Regions from separate parts of the Homo sapiens genome. Here region 2 is linked to region 1. The links are contacts of gene promoters, found by promoter capture Hi-C in blood cells and fetal thymus (Javierre and others, 2016). All regions are on one chromosome and are shown on one strand. The core of a region is centred on a gene start or on the middle of the fragment in contact, and the rest is flanking DNA. Distances in the headings are between cores, read along the strand shown. Region 1 overlaps LRP11 (LDL receptor related protein 11). Region 2 holds the start of ULBP2 (UL16 binding protein 2).

Evidence for each region. Contacts are between HindIII fragments. The CHiCAGO score rates a contact against its expected background, and 5 or more counts as called.
Region 2: a contact is called between the fragment with the promoter of ULBP2 here and a fragment that was not itself captured in region 1, in 1 of 17 cell types (endothelial precursors). The highest score is 7.1, in endothelial precursors.

The regions. Positions count from the first base shown.
Region 1 is chr6:149,830,734-149,836,670 of GRCh38, forward strand. It overlaps LRP11 (LDL receptor related protein 11), which reads right to left. Exons shown (of 7, transcript NM_032832.6): 5 at 5,352-5,564. RAET1E-LRP11 (RAET1E-LRP11 readthrough) reads right to left here. Exons shown (of 15, transcript NR_182438.1): 13 at 5,352-5,564. Among named protein-coding and RNA genes, the nearest start is that of RAET1E-AS1, 30 kb to the right of the region's middle. The HindIII fragment of the contact is 4,487 bases long and covers 1-4,319 here.
Region 2 is chr6:149,938,065-149,944,127 of GRCh38, forward strand. ULBP2 (UL16 binding protein 2) reads left to right here and starts at 3,950. Exons shown (of 5, transcript NM_025217.4): 1 at 3,950-4,093. The coding sequence starts at 4,009. RefSeq lists enhancers at 1-596, 597-1,287, 776-1,075 and a silencer at 3,818-3,947. The HindIII fragment of the contact is 19,686 bases long and covers 1-5,595 here.

The sequences.
Region 1 (5,937 bases), core at 826-3,325:
TCTTAAATGCCCTTATTCCCTGGGGAGAGGAAGATGGTGATGTAGGGAGGGATCAGGTATCAGGCAGCGGGCAGTGTGCATGGGAGACTTCAGAAGGCGCAGTTGCCCCAGACTCTAGGATTACCCAGGAACCTGGCCCTGCCTTCTGGGTAACTGAAATGTGAATTTCTGCTGTTTACATTCCATGAAGGAATTCCCTATGATTTCCCAGTCTGCCTGATTCATTTTTCCTAGATTTCAGCATAAGGAACGCCATAGAGAAATGCTTCACTTTCACACATCCAATCACAGGCTCTAGCCAGTGTGGCGAATCGAAACAAAACAAAACAATGACATCACTTGCTTCTGGAAATAGTTACTTTTGGTAATGATCCTTCTGGAAGAGTTACATGTCTTAGGAGACCATTTTTCCTTTCTTCTGAATGTATTATGTTTACTATGCATGGCGACACATTCACAGAGGGAATTGGCAGCTGGATGGAAGCTGTTTTCATTTCATTTCCAGCTGCCATAGAGCATGCAGGCATGATCCGGAAGAAATACTTTAACATGCCCAGGAATTCTCAAGTTTCAAAAAGCAGATTCCACGTGAATGTGGATGTAGCACCACTTTTCTAGCCCTTTGTAGGGCTGGAAACCAGATTTCTTTCCTCGGGGTAGCTTGGATACAAGAGGGTGGAATTGTTAATGAATGACATGGACCACACAGAGAACAGGCCCTACGGCTATGACCATGGTCAACAATCCAGCCATTGTGCCTTTACATGCTGAGCAAACACAGGCCACACTGGAGCTCTGTGCTCCTCCTGCCCGGTGGCTCAGAGTGTACTGAGCATGCATTCGCTGGTGTAACTGAATGTCTGCACATACCTTCATTTTATCCTCAGTAACCTGTGTGGAATAAATCCCCAAAAGTGGGACAATTGGGTCAAAGCACACATAGTTTTGTTTTAGAGATGAGGTCTTACTCTGTCACCCAGGCTGGAGTACAGTGGTGGGATTACAGCTCACTGCAGCCTCGACCTCCCAAGCTCAAGCAATTCTCCCACCTCAGCCTTTCAAGTAGCTGGGATTACAGGTGAATACCACAAGCTGATTTCTGTAGTTTTTGTAGAGATGGGGTTTTGCCATGTTGCTAGGGCTGGTCTAGAACTCCTGGCCTTAAGCAATCCACCTGCCTTGGCCTTCCAAAGTGCTGGGATTACAGGTGTGAGCTGCTGCACCCGATCATATACATAGTTTTAAGCCTTCAGAAACTGGCCTCTGGAAGGACGTACTAATTGCATTGCTACCAGCAGAGTGTGAGACTTGTTTCTCTCTACTCTTAGAAACATTAATTATTATAATTCTTCATCATTGTCAATGTGATAGGTGAAAAACTACATCTCACTACTTTGCATGCTACACTGTTAGTATTAATCTTAGTATCTTGTTAACAAGTCTTCCATGAGCTAAGTCTTTTTTTTTTTTTTTTTTGAGACTGAGTCTCACTCTGTCACCTGGGCTGGAGTGCAGTGGCGCAATCTTGGCTCACTGCAACCTCCGCCTCCTGGGTTCAAGTGATTCTCCTGCCTCAGCCTCCTGAGTAGCTGGGATTACAGGTGCCTGACACTACGCCCAGCTAATTTTTTGTATTTTTAGTAGAGATGGGGTTTCACCATGTTGGCCAGGCTGGTCTTGAACTGACCTCGTGATTTGCCTGCCTCGGCCTCCCAAAGTGCTGGGATTACAAGCATGAGCCACCGCGCCCAGCCGAGCTAAGTCTTATTTGTCCTCACCACATGTCTGTGCAGGAAGGAGGCAGCAGTGAATTTAACTCATTCATATTTATTGTACTAGCTGATGGTCTTCTTAAAACCCAGGCATGTGTCATGAACAACAATGTACTTTTTTTTTTTTTTTTTTGAGATGGAGTCTCGCTCTGTTGCTCAGGCTGGAGTGCAGTGGCGCAATCTCAGCTCACTGAAAGCTCTGCCTCCTGGGTTCACACCATTCTCCTGCCTCAGCCTCCTAAGTAGCTGGGACTACAGGTGCCCGCCACCATGCCCGGCTAATTTTTTGTATTTTTATTTTTATTTTTTTATTTTATTTTTGAGACGGAGTCTTGCTCTGTCGCCCAGGCTGGAGTGCAGTGGTGCGATCTTGGCTCACTGCAAGCTCCACCTCCCGGGTTCACGCCATTCTCCTGCCTCAGCCTCCCGAGTAGCTGGGACCACAGGTGCCCGCCACCACGTCCAGCTAATTTTTTGTAGTTTTAGTAGAGACAGCGTTTCACCATGTTAGCCAGGATGGTCTCGATCTCCTGACCTTGTGATCCGCCTGCCTCGGCCTCCCAAAGTGCTGGGATTACAAGCGTAAGCCACCGTTCCTGGCCTTTGTATTTTTAGTAGAGATGGGGTTTCACCGTGTTAGCCAGGATGATCTCGATCTCCTGACCTCATGATCCGCCCACCTCGGCCTCCCAAAGTGCTGAGATTACAGGCGTGAGCCACCGTGCCCGGCCAATAATGCACTTTTAAATCTACTTATGGGTCTTTAACTTACATGAAATCAGAGGCTGAGGACTCTACTCTGGTGGTCTTAGGGACAGCAGAGGGGGAGGGCAGGGACAGCTACTGTCTGAACAGAAACTACAGGATGTGAGGGCTCTTTCTAACATTTTCAGTTTTGTTTTTTTCTTCCCACTTTCTTCACCCCAGGACTTTCAAAAAGTGTGTTTTTGATGAATAGTTAATAATACATGAAAATGCTCATGAGTAAGAAAAAAGTTTTATAAAAGCATTATCCTGCTTTTGTTAAAAATGAATAAATATGTATATGTGTATGAATAGAAGTAACCAGAAGAAAATGCGACAAAATTTTAATGGTGAGTTTTGCTAGATGCTTTTAACTTTCTTTGTATTTTTCTATATTTTCTACAGTAAATCCATATTATTTTAATAATTAGAAAAAGCCCTAATATAATAACTGTACATCTAATCTCTCTGCATCTGTGAAAGACCACTCTTTACATCTTCATAACCAAATCCAAAGGCTGATTATCAAAAAGCAAAAGGAGAGATCATAAATAGATTGGAAATTGGGTGCTGACTCCCATCAGCCGCAGGTGGCAGCCTGGAGCATTATTTTCTTTTTTTTCCCTCCAACTTCTAAGTTCCGGGGTACATGTGTAGGATGTGCAGGTTTGTCACACAGGTAAACGTGTCATGGTGGTTTGCTGCACAGATCATCCCATCCCTAGGTATTAAGCCCAGCATCCATTAGCTGTTCTGCCTGATGCTCCCCCTCCCCCTACCTCCCACCCTCTGACAGGCCCCAGTGTGTGTTGTTTCCCTCCATATGTTCATGTGTTCTCATCATTCGGCTTCCATTTCTAACGTGAGGACATGCAGTATTTGGTTTTCTGTTCCTGCGTTAGTTTGCTGAGAATAATGGCTTCTAGCCTGGAGCACTATTTTCAAAAGGATTCTGAGCTAAGTCCACATTCCCCATGGGACAGTGCTGGGACCAATGAGTGACACCTAGCATGGGTAAGGGCTGATGGGGTAAAGTATGAATGTCAGCCTATTTATCATTCCTCAGTGCTGGACAGCACCTTGGAGGACATCTGGTTGAAGTCCCTTATTAACAGATGAGGCAACTGAGGTCCAGAGATATGAAGTGACTTATTCAAGGTTCTAAAGGTAGAGCCAAGACCTGGGCTTTGGTCTCGACTCTACTTTCAGCTAATTTGTTCATGCTCACGTGGTTCTCTCCACCACAGTAATGTGGTAGGAATTCATCCATCCTGGCCTCTGATAACACAGATCTCTCCATAAACTCTTCACCCCTTCGGCAGTCCTGCCAAAGATGCCTGGTCTGCCCAACTCTGTTTCTTAGATTGTGATGCTCTTCTCCATACAAACTATCTTAAGCAGAGAAAACCCACTAAAACCACATCCAAAGGCTTGCATGTAGTGACCGATTTTACCAGTAGGTGGCAGTACCAACCAGGAATGGACCAAAAAAGCAGACACTTGGCAGCATTCTTAACCAAAACTCAGAAAGAAAAGCCCCTGATAGAATGCAATGTTTTGCAGACATATTTTTATGGAGGCACTTAAAATCTACAAGGCACATAAACAAGAGTGGAAGGAAATATAACAAATATTAAAAGCAGTTTTCAAAAGAGGTGGTATTTTAAATTCACTTTCCTTCTTAAATTATTTTGCATCTTCCGTATCTTGTACAATGAACAAAAATTTTTCTTAATAAACTTACTAAAATCATGTCAGGTTATTTCAATACAACTTATGCAGAGTCTGAAAAGACATTAGAAAAGCTTTTGGAAATGTGATAATCTCTATTTCTGTCTCATGTCACATAATCATGCAAATAATAAGTGTGTAAAAAATGATGGAATCCTGTAATACTTATTGATTGACTGATTGAGACAAGGTCTCACTATGTTGCCCAGGCTGGTCTCAAACTCTTGGCCTCAAGCAATTCTTCTGCCTCAGCCTCCAGAGTAGCTGGGATTATAGGTGAGTCACTGCATCTGGCTAAATTCTGTAATGCTTTAGTCATGTTAATGTATTTTAGGCCAGGTGCAGTGACTCACACCTATAATCCTAGCACTTTGGGAGGCCAGCCGAGGTGGGCAGATTGCTTGAGCCCAAGAGTTCAAGACCAGCCTGGGCAACATGGCAAAACCTTGTCTCTATAAAAAATACAAAAATTAGTCAGGCATGGTGGTCCCAGCTACTACGCCTATAGTCCCAGCTACTCAGGAGGCTGAGATGGGAGGATCATGTGAGTTTGGGAGGCTGAGGCTGCAGTGAGCTGTGATCGCGTCACTGTACTCCAGCCTGGGAAACAGAGTGAGACCCTGTCTCAAAAAAAATAAAAATAAATCTCATTAGCCTTACTTTTTTTAGTGATAGATTTAGTTAAATTGGAGGCATAACGTTGAATTACTAGCACATGCATCTCTTTCAAGACAACTTGTTTAAATGTTCACTTGCTTGGGTGAAGAGGATTTACACAAATACATAATGGTTATGCTGTTTCATCTCAAAACAACCTAAAATTTAACACTTTGGGTATTGGTTTACGTAAGCTAAGTGTTAATGTATTTACAAATAAATGTATTAGTGTCTCTGGAGTAGGTACATGAGTGTATTTAGTAAGTGTCCCTTACTACAAATTAGTGCAAATGTCAAGATTTCCCCCCGCCTTTCTGGCCAAATTCTTAATTTTAACTCTTATTTCAAGATACTTCCTTAACACTCTTCAAACATAAACTTAATTGTGAGCCAAGTTTGGCTACAGAAAACAAGGTTCTTCATTGAGAACCCACCGTGAATCCTTACCTGGCATCACAGGAATGATTTGACTCTCTGGTCCCCAAAAGGCGGAATGATTCCTCTTCTCTGTGTTTGATAATGCAGGTGGCTTGTTTGGGGCAGTGGCTTTCTGAGACTTTTCCACCAAGGAGTCACCCCCTGCATCTTCACTCGGCCCTGTGGTTCTTGGCAGGGCAGGACTAGCTGCCGTGTGGGTTACCATCTTGCGGTCCAGGCCCACTGAAGTGTGGAAGAGCTACTGTTAGTTGCTGGATTTCTTTTCTGAGCTTTAATACTAAAAACACTACATCTGCAGCTGATTTAAAATCACGGATATTTGGATGTAACAGCCCACTCATCTAAGACATGTCAGAGGACCATAAAAATCTATTCTCACGTTTTCAAATGGGTAATCTGTTCTTTCTTCTTCCAATAGTCAGCTTTCCAAATGTTACACATAAAGAAATGGACGGGGCCCAGCACGGTGGCTCATGCCTGTAATCCTAGCACCTTGGGAGGCAGAAGTAGGCAATCACTTGAGCCCACGAGTTCGTGACCAGCCTGGGCAACAAGGCAAAACCCCATCTCTACAAAAAATTAACAAAAATTAGCT
Region 2 (6,063 bases), core at 2,700-5,199, 110 kb after region 1:
GCCCAGGAAAAGGTGCTCAGTGTCCACAGACCTCAGGGAAATGCCAACAGCACCCACAAGGGGACGCCTCACCCCGCTGGAATGGGTGACCCCAAACACTGTGAGGCTGGAGGGGGTGGGGCCTGCGTTCCTTACAAGGCAGAGAGCAGGAGACTGAGAGTTGGTGGAGTGTAGGGCTGTTCCTGTGTCATCCTCTTCCCATTTTCCTGGCGGAGGTTTCTCTTTGTTCTCTGGCCCTACCTGCTTCCTTCCTCTCCCTTTCTCTGGTTCTCCCTCCCGTCCTTCATTTCCAACCATCCCAAGGTTTTCTCTGCCTCAAGACGTCCATGCTCGGGGCCCCCAGCCCAGTGGAGAAACCAGGAGCCCTGGACCGCGAGCGGCGGGGTCGGGGAGGCGACAACGGGAAGCCCCTGTTGGATCCTGGGCACTCAGGACCTAGTGCGCCATGGGCGCCCTCCCGCAGCAGCCCCAGGGCAAGGAGGATGGGGGTCCTCGTGGGGGCCACACTGTCGGATCCCCAGGGATCCGAGCGGGACTGTGACGTCTCCACACTGAGCCGGTGGCAAAGTCGCCGCGAGGATGAAGGAGGAACCTCGTGCTCTTCACCCCACCAGGCCCCGCATTTCCTGTCTCCTGCCACGGTTCCTTGTCGCGACCGGCGAGTCCTCCCAGGTCTTCGAAAGGCCGTTTTGTCCGGAGGCTGTGGACCCGGAGGCCCGGGAGCATCGGCGGGCAGCGTGGCACCCACTCGGCGGTCTCAACCGGGCAGGACCCGGGTCCGGAGCTCGGGCGAAGCGGGCGTCCTGGGAGGAGCGCGCAGAACCCGGAGAGGACGCAGCAGGGTGAAAACTGAAACCGCATATGCGAACTGTCTCCGAAAGTCATCTGCGGTTGAAATCAGAAATCACCTATAATATCCCCTTTGTGACAACACCGTTGGGTAAATATCTAGAACCGGTGCCTCGTCACTGCAGCAGCCCCGCACGCAGCTGCCCGGGTTCCCCTCCCCGGACCCTAGTGGCCCCCAACAGATCAGGCGGGCCCACCGTGTGACCGTCCCTGGGACTCTCGGCCCCACTCTTACTTACTACTTCACCTCCACATTTTCACCTGTTTCAGAATCAAAACCCTGAAAAGTCATGTGTGAAAGGCTCCCCCGCCCCTGCCTGCGTCCACTCTCATTGGCCACACGCCAGGGAGGAAAGTTTATTTGATTCTTCTCATCTTTCCAGGGAGTCTTTATGCCGTTTCAAACGAATATAAATACATATTCTCAATTCAGACGCGGATATTTTTGACCCTTGATGAACCCTGTCACCCTGTCCTTCAGGAAGCCTGTACCAGTTTCCCCTCCCTCTACGGTGGATGTTTCACCATCCTCTGCCCAAGCTGGGTCATCACAATCACAGACAAGAGTGTCGCCAGCATTGCCATCCTATGACATGAGATGCTTTAAAGGTGCATTACTTCGCACAGCAATTCTGTGTCTGGAAATCTATTCTACACAATGAAATTGTGATTCATGCAAGCACAGTTTCTGCAGCATTTCGCTTCTCTAAAAGTCACTGGAGACCGTCTGGATCTTCAGACACAGACACTGGTTACTTTTGTTGTGATGCAGTCATTCTATGTAATGTGCAGAGATAAAAAGGAAAAAATCTGTATGTGCAGGTATTGCAAGATCTTCAAAGTGTGTTATTTTGAGATAGAATCTGTGTTCAGCAGAGTGCCTATGGGTTTATATTTGTTTTAAAAACCAGAATTGATACATAAACACGTATCTACTGTTAGTAAGGAAAACAGTATTTCCATAACTTATTGCCAGTCTCTTTATCCATTTTAGGAAAAATCGATATACTTGAAAAGCCACGGTGGCAGGAATTGGTCATCACCCACCAGGATTCTACACTGCCCTACAGGTGATCCCAACTGAGGTTGCCAGAGGAACAGGATGTGGAATGCAGTCGCGTTTCAGAGAGGAACCTAAAGTCAGAATGGACCAGGGGTCTTGCCCTGACCTCTGCCTCTTCACCCAACCCCCACCTGGTCAGGCAGTGACCCTGGAGGGGCTGGGATGATCCTGGGAGAGCAGTGAAATGGGGAGCCAATGGTGGGAGCATGGTGAACATGGAGAGCCCAGACCCCACACCATCTGGGGAGGAGCTCATGTGATGCTGGGAGCACTGGGAAGACAGGGAGCCTGGACACAGCACTCACTGCTCCTCCCATCTGGGACAGGATTGGGGTGGGTGATGAGAAAAGTTTCCTGAGTAACACAGTTCCCAATCCTGGCAGAATAACTCACCCCAGTTGCACTCACAGCCAAGACCCACTCAGCCCCTGGACCAGTCTAACACAGGGCTTGGTAAATCCAGGAGTGAATACTACTGAGGCATCTGCCAGGGCATAGGAAACAGTAACAAGAGGACGGCTCAGCTAGTGGCTCAGACTATCTTGCCCCACACTCTCCAATATTGAGTAGGGAGTAAGCCTTGAGCCCAGGAGGTTGAGGATTCAGTGAATTATGATCGTGCCACTGCACTCCAGACTGGTGACAGAGTAAGAGTCTGTCACACATGCTTACACACACAAATTAAATTGTGTGAGCAGTTGTCACACAGGGAGATCTGGATGCACTCACTGTGGACCCAGGTCTCAGCGAGCAGGAGGGTGTTCTGTATTGTGGGAACATGAGGGACACGCATGGGACCGGGCATTTGTGCCTAGCTTTGAAGGGTGGCTGGCCCTTTGCCCAGGGCGAAGAGGCCAGCAGAATGCACTAACAGTGGGGAACCACCAGGAACTTTCACTTGAACCTGCTCTGCTGAGCCCCCTGTGCCATCCGTGGACCTGGGCGAGGGAGGCTGCTGAACTGGGAGCTCAGGGCCCATCTCTCTGAGGAGCTTTCTAAATCAGCAAGTGTGTCACAGGTTGAGATTTTAGGAACGGGGTCCTCCATGTTGTCCTCGATTTTAATAAGTAGACTCTTTTGGCCAATCTGCATTGGGCAGAGCAGGAACAAGACATAATTTTTTAATATATATTTTTAAAGCTGTTTAATTTTGGTAAAAACATAGAAGATAAAATTTACCATCTTGACCAGTTGTTTAGTGCACAATATGTTGTTTTAAACCTCTGGAACCCTGCCTGCTGCTCCTGTAATAAAACCTAGCCCGGGCCAGGCGCGGTGGCTAACGCCTGTAATCCCAGCACTTTGGGAGGCCGAGACGGGTGGATCACCTAAGGTCATGAGTTTGAGACCAGCCTGGCCAACAAGATGAAACCCCATCTCTACCAAAAATACAAACAATTCGCCGGGCGTGGTGGAGGGCGTCTGTAATCCCAGCTACTCCGGAAGCTGAGGCCAGAGAATCCCTTGAACCCGGGAAGCGGCGATTGCGGTGAGCCGAGATCACGCCACTGCACTCCAGCCTGGGCAACAAGAGCGAAACTCCGTCTCTAAATAAATAAATAAATAAATAAATAAATAATAAAACCTAGCCCGGACTGTAATCACGTCCACTGGGAACTGGCGCAGTAGTGGAGGGGACGCGATCAGGCCCGTGGCTGCGCCCAGAGCATGATAAGCCAGGGACCTCGCGGCGCAGGCGGAGGGAGGGAGAGCGTCGCGGACCCAGGCGGGGACAGGGAGACGCCGCCGCCGCTGAATATTCCTCTGCAAGTTTCTTCACCTTCAATAAAAAAATGTTGTGATGATTAAATGAGTCTGTCGTGGAAGGAACCGTGTCTTGGCAGGAGCCGGGCGGACACCCAGACACCAACCCGAAGGGGGTTGGGACAAAGGGGAGGGACGCCCGGGAAGGGGAGGGACACCGTCAGGGCAGCCAATCATATTTCTAGCCGCGTGACGCTATGACCCGCTTGACGCTATGACAGCGGGAAACGGGGGGCGCGCCCGTACATAGGGAGGCTTTAAAACCTTGAGGTGATTCATCTTCCAGGCTCTCCTTCCATCAAGTCTCTCATCCCTAGCGCTCTGGGTCCTTAATGGCAGCAGCCGCCGCTACCAAGATCCTTCTGTGCCTCCCGCTTCTGCTCCTGCTGTCCGGCTGGTCCCGGGCTGGGCGAGCCGGTGAGTTCGTGGATGGAGCCTAAGCCGGGCGGGGACCAAGCCTGGAGGGCTGTGAACTGCCGCGGGTTTCAGAGGAGGGGAGGCTTCTAGAAGGACGGGGGAGATCTCCCCTAACTGCGCCCCCGTTCAGTTCCGGTCGGCGGCTCCTTCCTGCTGGGTGCAGTCCCCGAGGCTGCTTCTTGCCCGGGAAGAGGCGAAAAGGAGCGGGGTGGAAAGGAGGCTGGCAGGAGGGTGGAGGGGCCGGAGGGCTGCAGAGAGCGAGGTGGGGCGGGGATCCCTGGTGCAGCCTGGCAGTCCCACCCGCCCTCGGGAAGGAAAAACCAGAGCCCCCGGAACCGGAGCTGGGGACAGGACAGGGGTGAAGCGGGATTCCACAGGGACGCGATCACAGACACCCCCACCAGCCACAGGCCTGCTCTGCTCTCACCCGCTCTCCACCACACAAACCCTCCAGCGCCCCCAGGGCTGCGTGCCCTTGAATTTTTCCCTGCACTTTCCTGTAGACACTCACCTGCACCCAGGGGCTCAGCAGACAACCGCCACCCCTCCCCTCACCATCCACTGCCACCACCCAGGTCACGTCCTCTTACTGCCCACCTCAGCCCAGCTGGTCACCCCAGAGGTCTCCCCATCCATGAAGGGGACCTCACCACCTCCTACACCACGTCGCACCTTCTGCCTCTTGCCTGAGGACACACCCCAGCAAACACACCCCAAGCTCCCCTCAGAACCTGTGCAGGGGGGATGGGAAGCACCATTTCCTCCAGGATGACCCTGGGAACTCTGGTGAGTAGAGGCACCCACTTCTGCCCTTGGGGCCCAGACCGCCTGTTCTTCCTACGGGGGTGTCAGCGTCATAGAGAATAGTCACTGTGTAGACAGGGGTCAGCAAACTCTTTCTAGAAAGGGAGGAAGGATGCCCTGTGATCTTTGCAGGCCGTGGGTTCTCCGTCTCAGTGTCCAGTCCTGTCCCTTTGTAGAGCAACAGCAGGCAATGGCAACCTTCAAATAGGGGGGACCAGATTTGGACCCTGTCCTAGGTTGCTGATCCCAGATCAGGGGATTACAATGTCCCAGTGAATAGTGCCCCATCCCCTATGGTGTCATCTCCAAGTGATGTCTCTGATGTCAGTTGGAGAGTAGAAGGTGGTCCTACCTTGTCTGTGGCTTCTGGGTGGTGTGGATGTGATGGGAGTGGGGGTCCCATAGTTGGGGGCTTATTCTCCCCTCCTTTGTGCTGAGTGGCATCCACGGGGACCATCAGGTACCCTCCCTGAAGCCTCAGGTGTGAGCTGAGGGTGAGGGGGTGCAGCCACGTGGTGTCCTGGGGATCGGGTCCAACTGCTTGTGCAGCTTCTTGGTTCCCGGTGGCCCTGCTCCTGCCCATCCCAGAAGAACCACCTGCGTCTTCTCACTGCTGGGCCTAACTTCCTAATGACCTAGAGGGTGAGGAGCCCACCAGTAATGGGCAGCTCTGAGGCCTTCAGCAATAGGCATCCCTAAGCTTCATTCCATTCTGGTGCCTTGTCATGGGCCTTCTTTATATGCATGGCAAAAGGCCCCATCTCTGCCAAGGTGCAGTACTCTACAGGAGCCACTGCTTAATGTTGCGATTTCCTTGCTGTGAGTGGCATTGCCTTGTCTCTGAATATTCACATGGAATCTCTGTTGTGATTCTCCAATTAGACATTGTGACCACATGTACCTCTAGGGTCTTAGGGGGTCTTGGGTCATTGGGCACTTAAGGTAGGTCCAGCCTCGCTCATCATGCATGGATTGTCTATGGCTGCTTTTGAACTTCAACAGCAGAGTTGAGTAGTTACAATGGAGAATATATTCCCTGCACACCTTTACATGTTTACAAAATTGCCCTTCACAGCAAACTCTACTGGCCATAAATATCTTTGGAGAAGGCCACAAGGACTCACTGTCCTGGCTGCAGGGTTAAAGGGTCCTTCCTCACTAGAAAC